Linked DNA regions of Homo sapiens: region 1 is linked to region 2. Evidence: promoter capture Hi-C in human tissues and cell types (Jung and others, 2019). All regions are on one chromosome and are shown on one strand. The core of a region is centred on a gene start or on the middle of the fragment in contact, and the rest is flanking DNA. Distances in the headings are between cores, read along the strand shown.

Evidence for each region. Contacts are between HindIII fragments. The study calls those that stand out against the background at their distance.
Region 1: a fragment that was not itself captured here is called in contact with the fragment with the promoter of POLDIP2 in region 2 in 1 of the 25 tissues and cell types used here (dorsolateral prefrontal cortex).

What each region holds. Positions count from the first base shown.
Region 1 is chr17:28,571,400-28,577,989 of GRCh38, forward strand. It overlaps ALDOC (aldolase, fructose-bisphosphate C), which reads right to left and starts at 5,496. Exons shown (of 9, transcript NM_005165.3): 1 at 5,402-5,496; 2 at 4,022-4,145; 3 at 3,724-3,935; 4 at 3,553-3,607; 5 at 3,297-3,457; 6 at 3,095-3,178; 7 at 2,668-2,842; 8 at 2,336-2,535; 9 at 1,721-2,222. The coding sequence starts at 4,133. The coding sequence ends at 2,127. It overlaps PIGS (phosphatidylinositol glycan anchor biosynthesis class S), which reads right to left and starts at 125. Exons shown (of 12, transcript NM_033198.4): 1 at 64-125. The coding sequence starts at 97. It overlaps SPAG5 (sperm associated antigen 5), which reads right to left. Exons shown (of 24, transcript NM_006461.4): 24 at 6,175-6,371. The coding sequence ends at 6,300. RefSeq lists enhancers at 456-505, 5,719-5,898 and a silencer at 5,429-5,668. The HindIII fragment of the contact is 3,007 bases long and covers 987-3,993 here.
Region 2 is chr17:28,352,374-28,358,776 of GRCh38, forward strand. POLDIP2 (DNA polymerase delta interacting protein 2) reads right to left here and starts at 5,154. Exons shown (of 11, transcript NM_015584.5): 1 at 4,915-5,154; 2 at 3,422-3,503; 3 at 2,115-2,212; 4 at 1,322-1,418; 5 at 868-943; 6 at 539-646. The coding sequence starts at 5,075. It overlaps VMA12 (vacuolar ATPase assembly factor VMA12), which reads left to right and starts at 5,274. Exons shown (of 6, transcript NM_152464.3): 1 at 5,274-5,508. The coding sequence starts at 5,298. RefSeq lists enhancers at 4,554-5,319, 5,432-5,531 and a silencer at 4,852-5,241. The HindIII fragment of the contact is 19,434 bases long and covers 4,375-6,403 here.

The DNA.
Region 1 (6,590 bases), core at 1,240-3,739, 220 kb after region 2:
ACCCCTGCTATTCCTCCCTTGCCATCAGCTAGCTGCAGGCCCCCCACCCGAAGCCCACCGCACCTAGGTGTGTAGCCGCAGCCCCGGCGGCCGCCATGCTAGCTTCCGGCTGCTCCGGCCACCGTGGGGGCAGAGCTTCGTGAGCCTCACCCAATCGGAATCTCTGCAACGAGGGGGCAGGACCGCGGCGGTGATCGGGGCCAATCGCGAGCGCTACTCCAGACCCGCAGACGGGAGCAAGCGGGCGAGGGGTGGGAGGGCTCCGCTGGGAGCTTCGCTGGGGATCTGAAAGGAAGTCACCCGGGCGCGGAGGGACAGCCTAGGGGCCGTGCGGGTTTCGGCGCTGCTGGAACGAAGTTCCCCGCTTCCCTGTAGAACACACTTCTAGCCCCGCAATCAAGAGCGCAACCTCTGCAGTCCTTAAATACTAGCTGGGCAACTACAGGCAGCTCCGAGGCTCATCTGAAAATGGAGATATTTACATAAATGAGGCCGTTCTTGTAAGGAGCCTGGCACACGGAAAGCCCTCAACGTCAACTGTCACGGTCTTATTATCCTTATCGTAGAACTCCTCTTAGGGTGCCCTCTCCTCAAAGCCTCAAACACGGAGGTAGCAAGCTAGTATGTTTTAGCACAATTGGCTCTCTCGCTATTTTAAAATACGTTTTAATTCATTTCCAACTTGGAAAACTCAGAATACTTCACTTAAAAATCTTGAAAAGTCATGAGCCCAGACTCTAGATGCTGATCACTGCGGTTCAAATCCTGGCTTCATCACTTATTAGGTGAGTGATCGTGAGAAGATCGTTCTGTGCCTATCTGTGCCTGTTTTCTCTATTAAAATAGGGATGATAGTAATAGTACCTACTTTATAGAGTTGTATGAAATGTGTCAGTACATATAAAGTGATTAGAACAGGGTTGGTGCTATGTGCAAGCTATTTTTGTTATTATAAAGTCAGGCCACACAGGGTGGAGCATTTGTAGCCTCCCCAGTTGACACAGAACACACGCAGCTTGTTATCTCTTCTTTTTATCTGCTTAGACCCAGGTTCTCAGCCTACCTCACAACCCAGCCCAGTGGTTAAAGTTCAGCATCAGGCCTCACCAGAGCTGTCCTTACCCAGACCCTCCAATTGGCTCCCTTTGTGCCCACTTCTACCCCAAATGAAAATGGGCCATAGCCCTTGGCAACCTCCTAGATGCCCTGCTCAGCCCTGGCAGCCCGCAGAGCCTTGGTTTTCCTCTTTGGGCGGGAGTCCAGGTGCTCGCTTGCCCTTACTGGTGTGGCTCACCCTAGTGGAAGGTACCAGGTCCCAGCTGGGCTTAACACTGCGAGATGGGAGAGACTCCCACCCACTCTTATCCCAGCCTGTCTTGCTGCCTCCCTGCTTTGAGCCTTGCACAAATCTGCCTTCAGGAGTTGCCAGTTTGGCCTCACTCCATACTTCTGTAGCTGCAGCCCAGTGCCACTGATGTGGCAGTCCCTAGAAGACTTGCAGTCTTCCTCATTGCCCCACTCCAGACTTGGACATCAAGAGAGCAAGAGCCTGAGCTGGGGATGGTGACTGCATGTGCCCTTCCTCCATAACTTGAAGCCCAGTAAGACTCAAATCCCACCCTCTCCACCTCCAGAGTCAGAGGGCCCAGAGATAGAATTAGCAGAGATCAGAAACTGGGAGGTGGGAATTTGATGTGTAAAACAGACAGGCAAAGTAGAATGTTTTGCTACCATTTATTTGCTGTATGGTATGTACTCAAGGCATGAGTCAGGGCTTCTGTACTACCCTCTGATCCCAGGAGACAGGGCAGGCAAGAAGGAGAGCCCAGGGAGAAGCTACCTCATCATGGGAAAATTGTGGGAGCTGGAAGAGGTAGGGGGAGACCCAGCCATCCTGTTCTGACTTCTAGCAATTTCTTCTGCCCTCAGTCATGAGGGGCTCCCTATCCTCCCATCCTATGGTCCCAGGTGCAGCAATGAGAGAGGGGAAGGGAAGAGAGAAAGGAAGACAAGTTGGTGCCAGGTGAAGGCATCTCTGCTCTGCATAGCTATTTGGCCCTGGCCATGACTACAAGCAAAAGTGGGTGCAGATGGCTGGGCCAAGGGCTGTGGTATGGAGTGGATACTCAGTAGGCATGGTTGGCAATGTAGAGTGACTGTGCTGCTGCTCCACCATCTTCTCCACTGCCTTCATACTTGCCCTGGGCTGCAAGCCCATTCACCTGCAAAAGGGAGCGTGGAGTAAGCAGGCTGAGCCAGCCCACAGGTGCCAAGCCCTGCCCAGGCTATAGCCTCTGGGTGCTGCCCCCACCCACCACCACCTGTAGCTCCCAACCTCAGCCCGCTTGATGAACTCCTCAGTGGCAGCCCCAGCATTGTCCCGTTGCCCTCGCCAGGCATTGAGTGCAGAGGCTTGCAGGGCACGCCCATAGGAGAAGGTAAGCGCCCAGGGTCGGGGAAGGGGGCAGCGGTTGATGGCATTGAGGTTGAATGATGCCTCTTCTTCGCTCTGACCCCCAGACAGGAAGGTCACTCCTAGTGTGGAGGAGAGAAGACAAACTGACTGGTCACTCCCAATTTTTCCAGGATAGGGAACCCCTGAAGGCCACAAGAAGGACCTGAAGATGGGCCTTAGGGATAGGAGCAGGTTAGGGAGCTGGGTAGTACCTGGGACAGCTGGGGGCACAGTGCGACGCAGGGCAGTGACAGTTGCCATGGCAATCTCCTCTGGGGTATACTTGATGGGACAGGCATGGCCCGGGGTCACCATGTTGGGCTTGAGCAGGGTCCCCTCCAGGTATACATGATGGTCACTCAGGGCCTTGTACACAGCAGCCAAGACCTGGGTGGGGATTAGAGGAGGTTTACTAAGGGTCTGGGCCCCCACTGGTTACTGCTCGATGCTCCCTATGTAGGGGTAGATGGGCACAGACTGTGAGGGCTCAGTACAGGCTCAGATCACAGGCCTGTGCCGGGATGAAGTGAAAAAGTGCTAGGGGAAAGTGTGCCTGGATCTAAGCTGGGGGTTCTGGGGAACAGACACTCCTGCCGAGCTGTCCCTGCAGTATGTTTGTGTGCCCAGGTGTGGACTCACCTTCTCTGTAACATACTGACAACGTTTGAGGTCGTGGTCTCCATCAGGCAATATTTCAGGTTCCACAATAGGCACAATGCCATTCTGCAGGCAAGAGCAGAGATGCTTGGGAGGGGCAGTAGGGGAGATGAAGAAAGCCTTGTGACTCTCTCCCCACCAGGCATACAGGGCACCTAGCTCACCACCCTCCCAACACACACACCTGCTGGCAGATACTGGCATAACGGGCCAGCACGTTGGCGTTCTCCAGAATGGCAAGTGCAGAGGGTGTACGCTCACTGATTTTCAGCACACAGCGCCACTTGGCAAAGTCAGCACCATCCTTCTTGTATTGGGCACAGCGTTCTGAGAGCCCATCCAGCCCTGCAAGCACAGTGCCAACCTCATTACTCTGCCCCTCTTTTACCAGCATCAACTATCTAACACCTCTTTGGTCCTCAAGCCCACCCATCCTATACCTTGAGTGGTGGTTTCTCCATCAGTCCCAGCTAGAGGCACCACACCCTTGTCAACCTGTAGAGGAAGTACAAGCAGAGGGTTGAATCCAGGCAGGATTCTCCTTGCTACCCCTCCTACACAAGCTTATTTTCACACCCAGCTTCCATTCAGAGCAGGGCCAGGGGCTGCACCTTGATGCCCACGACGATGCCCTTATCCTGGATGGTTCGGACGAAGGGAACACCATTATCATCTTTCTGGTAGAGGGTCTCATGGAAGAAAATGACGCCTCCAATGCACTTTTTCACACGGTCATCAGCACTGAACAGGACCTGGCGGTACAGCCGGCGGTTCTCCTCTGTGTTTTCCACCCCAATTTGGCTCAGCCGCTTGGCCATGCTGCCTAGGGGCAAACAAAGAGAGGCAGTGAGAACATCCCCAGGGTCCCCTAGCCACCTGTACCCTACCTGGCTACAGATGTCCACTTACCTACAGACTCATCCGCAGCCAGAATGCCTTTGCCCGGGGCTACAATCCGCAGGGCAATGTCAGACAACTCCTTCTTCTGCTCAGCAGAAAGGGCTGGGTACGAGTGAGGCATGGTGACAGCTCCCTGGAGTGGAGACAAGATAAAAAAGCCAGACCTCACCCTCTGCTGCCTCTCCTGGCCAGATGGGCCAAATGGCCTCCCCATCAAGCAAGGGGCTGGGAACAGGGCAGCAGTCCTTGGCATGAGTCCTGGGCATCAAGTGGCACCAGTCCTTCTGACAGCTAGCAAGCTTAGGGCTCCAGTTCCCACATCTCCTTTTGTCCCTGGTAGGCATCCTTCCCAGCCCTGGGGAAAGATGCAGGGTGGGGGTGGGGAGGTGAGCAGCCCTGAAGCCACAGCTCTTCTGATAAATCTGCTGCCCAATCAAGGATGCCAACCCTTCTTTCACTGAACTTGGTCCCTTGTTGAGGTAGGCAAAAGTCCTGGCCTTTCCAGCTTCCCTTTTCTCATCCTCCACAGGACCCCTAGGGAAAGTGTACTTACTTCCAAGGCTTCAGAATGAGGCAAAAGTACTTATTGCCACCCTCTTCTCTCAGCTTCTAGAGGAAAAGGTTGGAAGAACAGGTAGGGAGTAGGAGTGGCACAAATACCAGTCACAGGCTCCTGCAGCTTCTCCTTTTCTGTACTCCAAACCTGCCTGCCTATGCCTATTGCCTATTCCCACCCAGTACCAGAGGTTGGCCCCAGTGGGGCTGCAGTGATGTAGGAAAGAGGGCCCAGCGGGTCAGCTGTGTTAGTGTGTGGAGACTAGGGCTAGTGACACCTCCGGGTCATCTCTGTGCCCAGGAAGCACTTCACCTGTTTGGCAGGAGGATAGCAATAGGAAGCACTTCAATTCCCCACAACTCAGACACCCAGACGGGAGGGCAGAGGACCAAGGCTGAAAGGAGTAGAGAGCCTGAGAGAGAGATGAGACTGAGGGGAGCTAGTGGTGATGCAGGCTAACCAGTCAGCGGGAGAGACCTAGACCGGGGGGCAGAGAAGGCGGGAGAACTGGAGAGAGGACCTAGCCTAGGAGGAGAGGGAGCAGGCTGAGAAGGAAATGCTCTGGGTAGGAGAGACAGACTCCAAGGAAAAATCCAACAAGTAGAGGAGGATTTGGGATTGGAAAAGCTGAGGTCCAGCTGGGAGAGCTGAAGAGGGATAGAACAGAAGAGGTTGAGCCATGGGGTTTCAAGTACGCGGAAAGGAGCAAAGATGTTAGGAAAGGGTCGAAAGGGCACATCCCGGAGTCCCAGGTAGCAGGACGAGGATGGCAGGGGAAGAGCCAAGGAAATGAAGCGGAGATGTTGAGTGGCTCCCGCCTTGCCTGGCCTTACCTGTGCGCAGCCAGTTAGCAGCCGCAGCCACAAGCACAGCTCGGGTTCTGATCCGCAAACAGATGAGGCTGCAGCCCTGGCTCCCTCTGGTAAATGAGGCTGCGGATGTCGCAGAGCTACGTGACTCCTCCGGGGGCGTGGCCTGCATGCCCCGCCCTGACCACACCCCCTCCCCAGGACTGGTGTCCGGGGCAAGACCACGCCCTCAGAGGCGGGGCGGCGAGGTGGAGTGAGCGCCCCGCCAGGCATCCGTGGCTGTTAGGGACTGCCCTCCCACCTCGGGGAGCCTGGCCATGACCTTGCGTTCATTTCTGCCACAATCCCTTTACCACGTGCCGGGCACTTGCTGGATGCTGGGGATTAAGCTTAGTCTGGTGAAGAGGAGGCACCAGAACAGTAACAACAGGTTGAGTAGGTGGGGCAGAAGCATCTTCAAGGTGCCCAAGTTCAGGGCAGGAAGTAATGAACTGAGCTTCTCTGTCCTCACCCCCATATTTGCCAGGGTATACCCCCGAGGGGGCTGGGGAAAGTAAGAGAATGAAGCCTTTCTGTTTCCTCCAGGCGGTGAGCCAGGGAACAAGCAGTCCAGTGCCCAGAGTTTTGGTGAAAGCAGAGGAAGGGAGGAAGGGCAGGCAGCCTTGGCTTTGGATGCAGCAGGAGGTGGAGAGGGATCTATGGAGGGTGCCCAGGCAGGAGGCCCAAGCTGCTTCTTCCCTGACTTCATCATCCGCCCCCTCTCACCCAAAAAGTAAGATTCCGTAAGCTTGGAGAAATTCATTAAATACACTTTATTTAAATAGCATTTATCTCAGTTGGCTCTATGCCAGTTGGTCTTGGTATTGGGGTAAGGGGGTATTGCAGGTAAAAAGAGGTGAAGCAGATTCTGGCTTTCAGTTTCTTAGCTCAGAAATTCCAGCAATCCCTGTAGTTCTTTGCATCCCCTCACCACCTCTGGAATAGAGAGCAGGGTCTGGGAAGAGAGGCAGAAAACGCAGCTCAGGACCACAGACTTAAGGCCCAGGGCTCCCAGCCCCAGGAGGCAGCCGCTGAATTAGAGGGGAGAAAACAGACACCACAGAGAAGCCTGCAATAGTGATTCAGGCCCAGCTCTCAGCACAGGCTGGGAACCAGATCTGTGCTCATTAGTACCTCCTGGGGCCAGGCCTTGTACCAGGTTCATTAGTGATAT
Region 2 (6,403 bases), core at 3,904-6,403:
ACTACAGGTGCACGCCACCACACCCAGCTAATTTTTATATTTTTAGTAGAAACAGGGTTTCACCACATTGGCCACGATGGTCTTGATCTCTTGACCTAGTGATCTGCCCGTGTCAGCCTCCCAAAGTGCTGGAGTTATAGGCGTGAGCCACAAGCACCCGGGCCTTTTTTTTTTTTTTTCCTGAGATGGAGTCTCGCTCTGTTGCCCAGGCTGGAATGCAATGGTGCAATCTCGGCTCACTGCAACCTCCACCCTCCTGGGTTCAAGTGATTCTCCTGCCTCAGCCTCCCAGGTAGCTGGGATTACAGGCGCCCACCACCACGCCCAGCTAATTTTTGTATTTTTAGTAGAGACAGGGTTTCACCAGGTTGGCCAGGCCAGTCTTGAACTCCTGACCTCAGATGATCCACCTGCCTGGGCCTCCCAAAGTGCTGGGATTACAGGCGTGAGCCACCGTGCCCGGCCCTGGAATTATTTCTATGATATTCTTTGATGAAAAGGCCCTCCCATTCCACCTCCCCTTCTTGAGAGAGATTACCTTTTGTCTGGTCATACAGAAGAAATCTTTCAAAGAGTTCATGTTGGATGGGAACCTGATCAGTGGAGGTGTAGGGGAGGATGTCTTCATGGCTGACATAGTCCAAGCCTGGCACAGAGATGCAAAAGACAGTGGTGAAACTCACAGGAGAGGAGAGAGATGGGGTTGAGAAGAAACATTAACTGGCCTTGTTCCAGTATGGGATAACCCTGATATCATACCTCTCAGCATCATAATCCCTCCCAGTGGATGACAGGACATCAGAATCCTCTCCCTGAGACACACCAGACTCCTTCTTGACGGGCACCATTCAAATGCTAACTACTCACCTGGGATGGCATAGAGGGCCCGACTGTCATCATGGTTAGCCAAGAAGGTCACAGCTTCTGTCTGAGATCTCTGAGACTAAGGCAAGAAGTGAATCAGTGGTGAAACCATGTCTCTGCTAAAAAGTACAAAAATTAGGCTGGTGTGGTGGCAGATGCCTGTAATCCCAGCTACTCGGGTGGCTGAGGCAGGAGAATCACTTGAACCCGGGAGGCAGAGGTTGCAGTGAGCTGAGATCTCACCACTGCACTCCAGCCTGGCGACAGAGTGAGACTCCATATCAAAAAAAAAAAAAAAGACGTGAATCAGGGCTTTGTTGGCCACTGTGCAGTCCAAGGCCTTGGGGACCAAGACTGACCTGGGCTCTGTTTGACCCCCTTCCCTCCCTTTGTCCCCATTGGGATGCAGGACTTTCCATGGAGAGGACCCCCAAGCCCAGCCATCTTGCTTACTTACTATATGTGGGCAGTCACGAGCATCAATCAGCACCTGATAGTAAGTGTGAGTTTTGCCTTTCACCTCCTTGGAGCCATGGCCAGCAGGGTTCTCTGCTCTATGGGGTGGGAGAAGGAGGCCAAGATCACCCCAGGAGAAATGGAAGCTGTGGCTGACTCAGCTCCCTACTCCTCCTCACCTAAACAGGCTGGTCTCTGATCTAAAGGGGCTTTAGCACCAGCTGGACACCTGCTCTGCAGCACCTCAGCTCAGCTGCTCCTCAGTTGGGGCAAATAATAGAGCATGGAAGACCATGGTATGGAGCCATCATCTGACCGTGTGGATACCTCTTAAAAGAAGGGGGCCATGTTGAGAAAATCAAATTGCCACCTCAGTCCCCAGGGCCCAGAGTACTCTTGTCTTCTTATATCCCAGGGACTGTCTGTGATCACTTAATGGGGCTGAACCTTTTCTGTTTTAATGTATTCTAGGGATGATGTGAGATTGAGGGAAAGACTCCAGCTGAACATCAAGAAATCAAGAAGACTTGTCCCCCAAATGCCCTCTGGGATACTCATAATGAAAATTAGGAATGGCTTAGGAAAGCATTCTGAGGAGGCCTAAAGGGACTCTCTGACTTAGACTATCCCTGGCACTCAGCACTTTTGTCTCCATGGGTCTTAGTCCCAGAGAAGTACTCTGGGGATGTTTCCAAGGCCTAGGAGGACGCTGTCTTCACCCCTAGTACCCCAATTACATATGTCTGCCATCTCCTCCTGAGGATACTGTGAGGCACAACCACAGGGAAACTTACTTTTCTGGAGCTGCAGAAGCCACATCCCGGTCATACAGTCTGGCCTGCCAGGGAAACAGGACGACACCTCGGTAGCCAAAAATGCTATGAAGGAAAAGCTGGAAGGAAAGAGGGGCCTCAGTGAGTCTGCAGTCCAGCAAATCCATCCAGGTGGGCCCCAGACCACAAAGCAACACAGGTGGAGGCAACTCCAGCACAAGGTCTTGCTACCTCTTCCCTTGAAGTCTGTGATCAACCAGACCAATGCTGGAACACTCTTATTTCTTCTTTACCTGGCTGACTCTACTCATCCTTTAGGTAAAAGCTTAGGCCTCCAGGAAGCCTTCCCTGACCTCCCTTCCACTTAGCACAATGTACAGCTATTGGCCATTTGCAAATCGTTCTTTTCTAGACTAGAAACTCCACAATAGCAGGAATCATGTCTACTTTGCTTTCTGATTTAACCCTAATGCACAATGCCTAGTCCATTGTAGGCACACAGAAAAATAAAATGTTGAACAAACAAAAAGTCTTCCTTACCTACAATATCCTAGAAGGGCCTAAATCTATCCCAGTGGACCCAGAACAAAGCTGATATAGAAAAAGAACCACACATCCAGAGTTTACCACACTGAAGTCAATTTTATTACGGCAAAGCATCAAAGGTATACTTTTCTGAAAGCTCCCTCCACGGCTTCCCACCATCCACTATGTTAGAGAAATCTTCAGCAACTTGGCTAAACCTCACTATAGTCCACACCATCCCTGTCCACATTAACTTGGAAAGAGAACCCACTGACACATTAAGTGCATTCAAATCCAGGAGAACAGAAACCCTATCTATAAAAATTTGATTCTGGGCTGGGTGCGGTGGCTCACGCCAGTAATCCCAGGACTTTGGGAGGCCAAGGCAGGTGGATCACCTGAGGTCGGGAGCTCGAGACCAGCCTGACCAACATGGAGAAACCGCATCTCCACTAAAAGTACAAAATTAGCCAAGTGTGGTGGCGCATGCTTGTAATCCCAGCTACTAGGGAGGCTGAGGTAGGAGAACTGCTTAAACCCAGGAGGTGGAGCTTGCAGTGAGCCGAGACCATGCCATTGCACTCCAGCCTGGGCAACAAGACTGAAACTCCGTCTCACAAAAAATAAATAAATAAAATAAATAAATAAAATAAAAAATGAATACAAATTTGATTCTGGAATGGCACCAAACATCAAGGTGGAATGAATGGAACACCATACCATGCAGGCCTGTGACCTAATCTGACTTTTTTCAGAAGCAGAGCACTCTATGAAAATGAAAGATGACCCAGCCCAATACTCACCTGCCCGGTCTCATATTTTCCATTCTGTTTTGGCACCTCAAACACACCAACTGTCTCCAACACTTTGCCCTCTGGTCGGTTTCTGAGTAGGAAGGAAAAGAACAAGCAACAGAAAAGCTGAGAAGGTAATGGTAGTTATCCATAAGAAAAAGCTCCTAGGATACTGAGGGGCCAGGGCGATGACAGCAGAGAAGGGTTTGGGGTAGTGGGACCAGCTGGAGCAGGAAAGGCTTTCCTCCTCCTTGGTGAAAACCTCCACAGTCTCCCAGTGTTAGATGTGACCGCTCCCATACTACTGTCTTCTCTCTTCACTGGGCATTCTTCATATCATGCCCTCACACTCTGCTCAAATGTACCCCTGCCCTTGTTTCTTCCCTAACCCACCCTCCTGACCTCCCACAGCACTTTAACTGTCTTGCTCACTTTTTCAATTTTTTTAGAAGGGGAGTATCTTTTTTTCTTCTTTTCTTACATTTTCTATATCACAAGTCATCAAACAATATCCTGCTCCCTTTACATTTCAGTTGTGTCCATGTCTTATCTTTATTAAATACTGTAAATTCCCTGGGAGCAATGCCTGAGTCTGATTAGCTGGTACTGCCCCCTCAGAGCCTAGTGTACAAGAGGTGCTCAAAAAATATTTGTCCTGTATTATAATTCCATGTCCATCTCCCCCTCTAACCTGTAGCCCTTACATTGCCCTTGAAAAGCTTAAACATCTCTAGATTTCCTACGGCACATCGCTCTCTCAATACCGTTTTTGTTCATATTCTCACAGGGGTCTTAAATTGCAAATAGCTATCATCTCTCCCCAATGTTCAGTGTCTAATATCAGCCACTAAAATGTCAGTCACCACTCTGAACAGGGCTGCTCTTTCTAGGGGCCCTTCAAATAAAGGCTGTTTTTACTGTTTTGAAGATGTGAACTTTATGCTTCCTCCCACTGATCCACCAGCCCATTTGATCCGCCTGTCCCATCCGTGGAAACAGTTTCCACACCATCCCCATGGCCTCAAACCCCCTTCCCCAAGTCACAGATAGAAAATCGATCTCCCCAAAGTCACTTGGAAACCTGGGGCCTACGAGGGTCCACACCCAAGAGTCTCGTTTCCCACCTCTAGCATCTTTCTGAGGCAGACCTTCACCAAATCCAAAGGCTGAGGGTTCAAGCCAATGCCCTAGGGCTGAATTAAAAAGCTTCCCTCTGACATCGGTGCTGGGGACCCCAGCCGGGGAAGTAGGATTCACTTGGGGAGGGTAACCTGTTCCCCCCCAGGGCCAGCCCTGTACAACCAGGGCTCTGGGCCGCGCTGGCTTCCCTGCTCCTGGCACATGTCCCAGACAGCGCAGGTCGGCTCCCTGCTCGGGACCCTCTCCCGGGTCAAACTCCAGTCACCCTCAGCAGGCCCGGGCCCCTGGCCTCCGCACTGGCTAGGAACACGCTCTCTGGGCTCCAGGCCCAGTTCCTCGCGCCCCCTGGCTCCGTCCCTCACCGGGACGAGAGGTGCCTCCGCGTCGTCGTGGTCGACGCTGGCGAGAAGGCTCCAGCTCCGGCCGCCGCACAGAGCGGCCTTGGCCACCGGGCCCCAGTCAGCGACCGGGACCACCAGCGGCTGCCCACGGCCAGGGCCCGCCGGGCTGTACAGGCTGCCATGTCCCGCCCGAGCGCCCGCCCGGCTGCTGACACAGAGCCCGACCCGCGGCCGGGCGGCGTTCCGCCCCAGTCCCACACTGCCCCGCGCGGCGTCCCGGCCCTCTTGGCCCGCCTGGTCCCACCCCGGAGCTCAGAGCAACTTCCGGTGCGCTTAGCGTTACTTCCGGCGCGCGGCGGGCGGAAGTCCGGGTTGGGGTCACCTGACCGGAGAGCCGGCTAGATATGGCGTCCTCTTTGCTTGCGGGCGAGCGATTGGTGCGTGCTTTGGGCCCCGGCGGGGAGCTGGAGCCAGAGCGGCTACCCCGAAAGCTGCGGGCCGAGCTTGAGGCCGCGCTGGGGAAGAAGCACAAGGGCGGTGATAGCTCCAGTGGCCCCCAACGCTTGGTTTCTTTCCGTCTCATCCGGGATCTGCACCAGCATCTGAGAGAAAGGGGTGAGCCCCAGTCTCCAGTCCGGGGTCCCCTCCTTGTGTCCAGATCGATTCCCTCCTGAGGTCTTTTCCCATCATTCCCCTTCTTCTACGGAGCACTCATCTAGACAAGTCAAGAGTCACTCCATAAATCCCAGGGCCACCCACTTTCTTAACTCCCATGGGAATTTCTCGTGGATGACAAATTTGCTTGTGCAGTTTCTGCTCTTTTGAGAGCCCCCTCTTCACTTCCAGGCACACCTAGGCCCAATTCACCCTTGAGAAAGTCTAGGTTTTTACCAAATACAAATATCACAGGTTTTGTCTCTTCTTTTTCTCCACTTTAGGAATCAGCTTAGCATAGTGAGCTTGTAGGAATCCGGATTTCTTTCCACCTCAAAAGCAAGAGTGGTGAAATCTGATACTTTGTTTTGTTTGTTTGTTTTTTTAATATAGGATGGCAAAAGCTGTGTTGAAAGATCTGGCCTGAGAGTAGCATGTGAGTTCCAGTCCTAGCTCTGTCACTAATCCTTTGAAGGAGTCATTTCTCCTCGCTGGGCCTCAGTTCCCTTATGTGTAAAGGGAAGGAACAGGACAAACTAGCACATAAGGTATTTTGCCAGAAGTAACATAGACCAGCCAGAAGTGCAAAGGGTAGACTGCTCAATTATTAGAACTAGAAAGGACCTTAGAAAGAGATTGCCTAGTATTAGTGTCCTCTGAGCATTTAGCATCACTATGACCTAAACTTATTTAGGGAAGAGCTGTTGTGGCCACAGAACTGATCTAACCCAAAGGCACAAGTAAATGGCTTACTTGTTAGTTATAACACTGGCAGGATAATTGAGAGCTGACAGCTAAAGTCACCTGCGCAGCACTGGGAGATACCTACATGGAATTATCCAAAATTCTTTTCAAT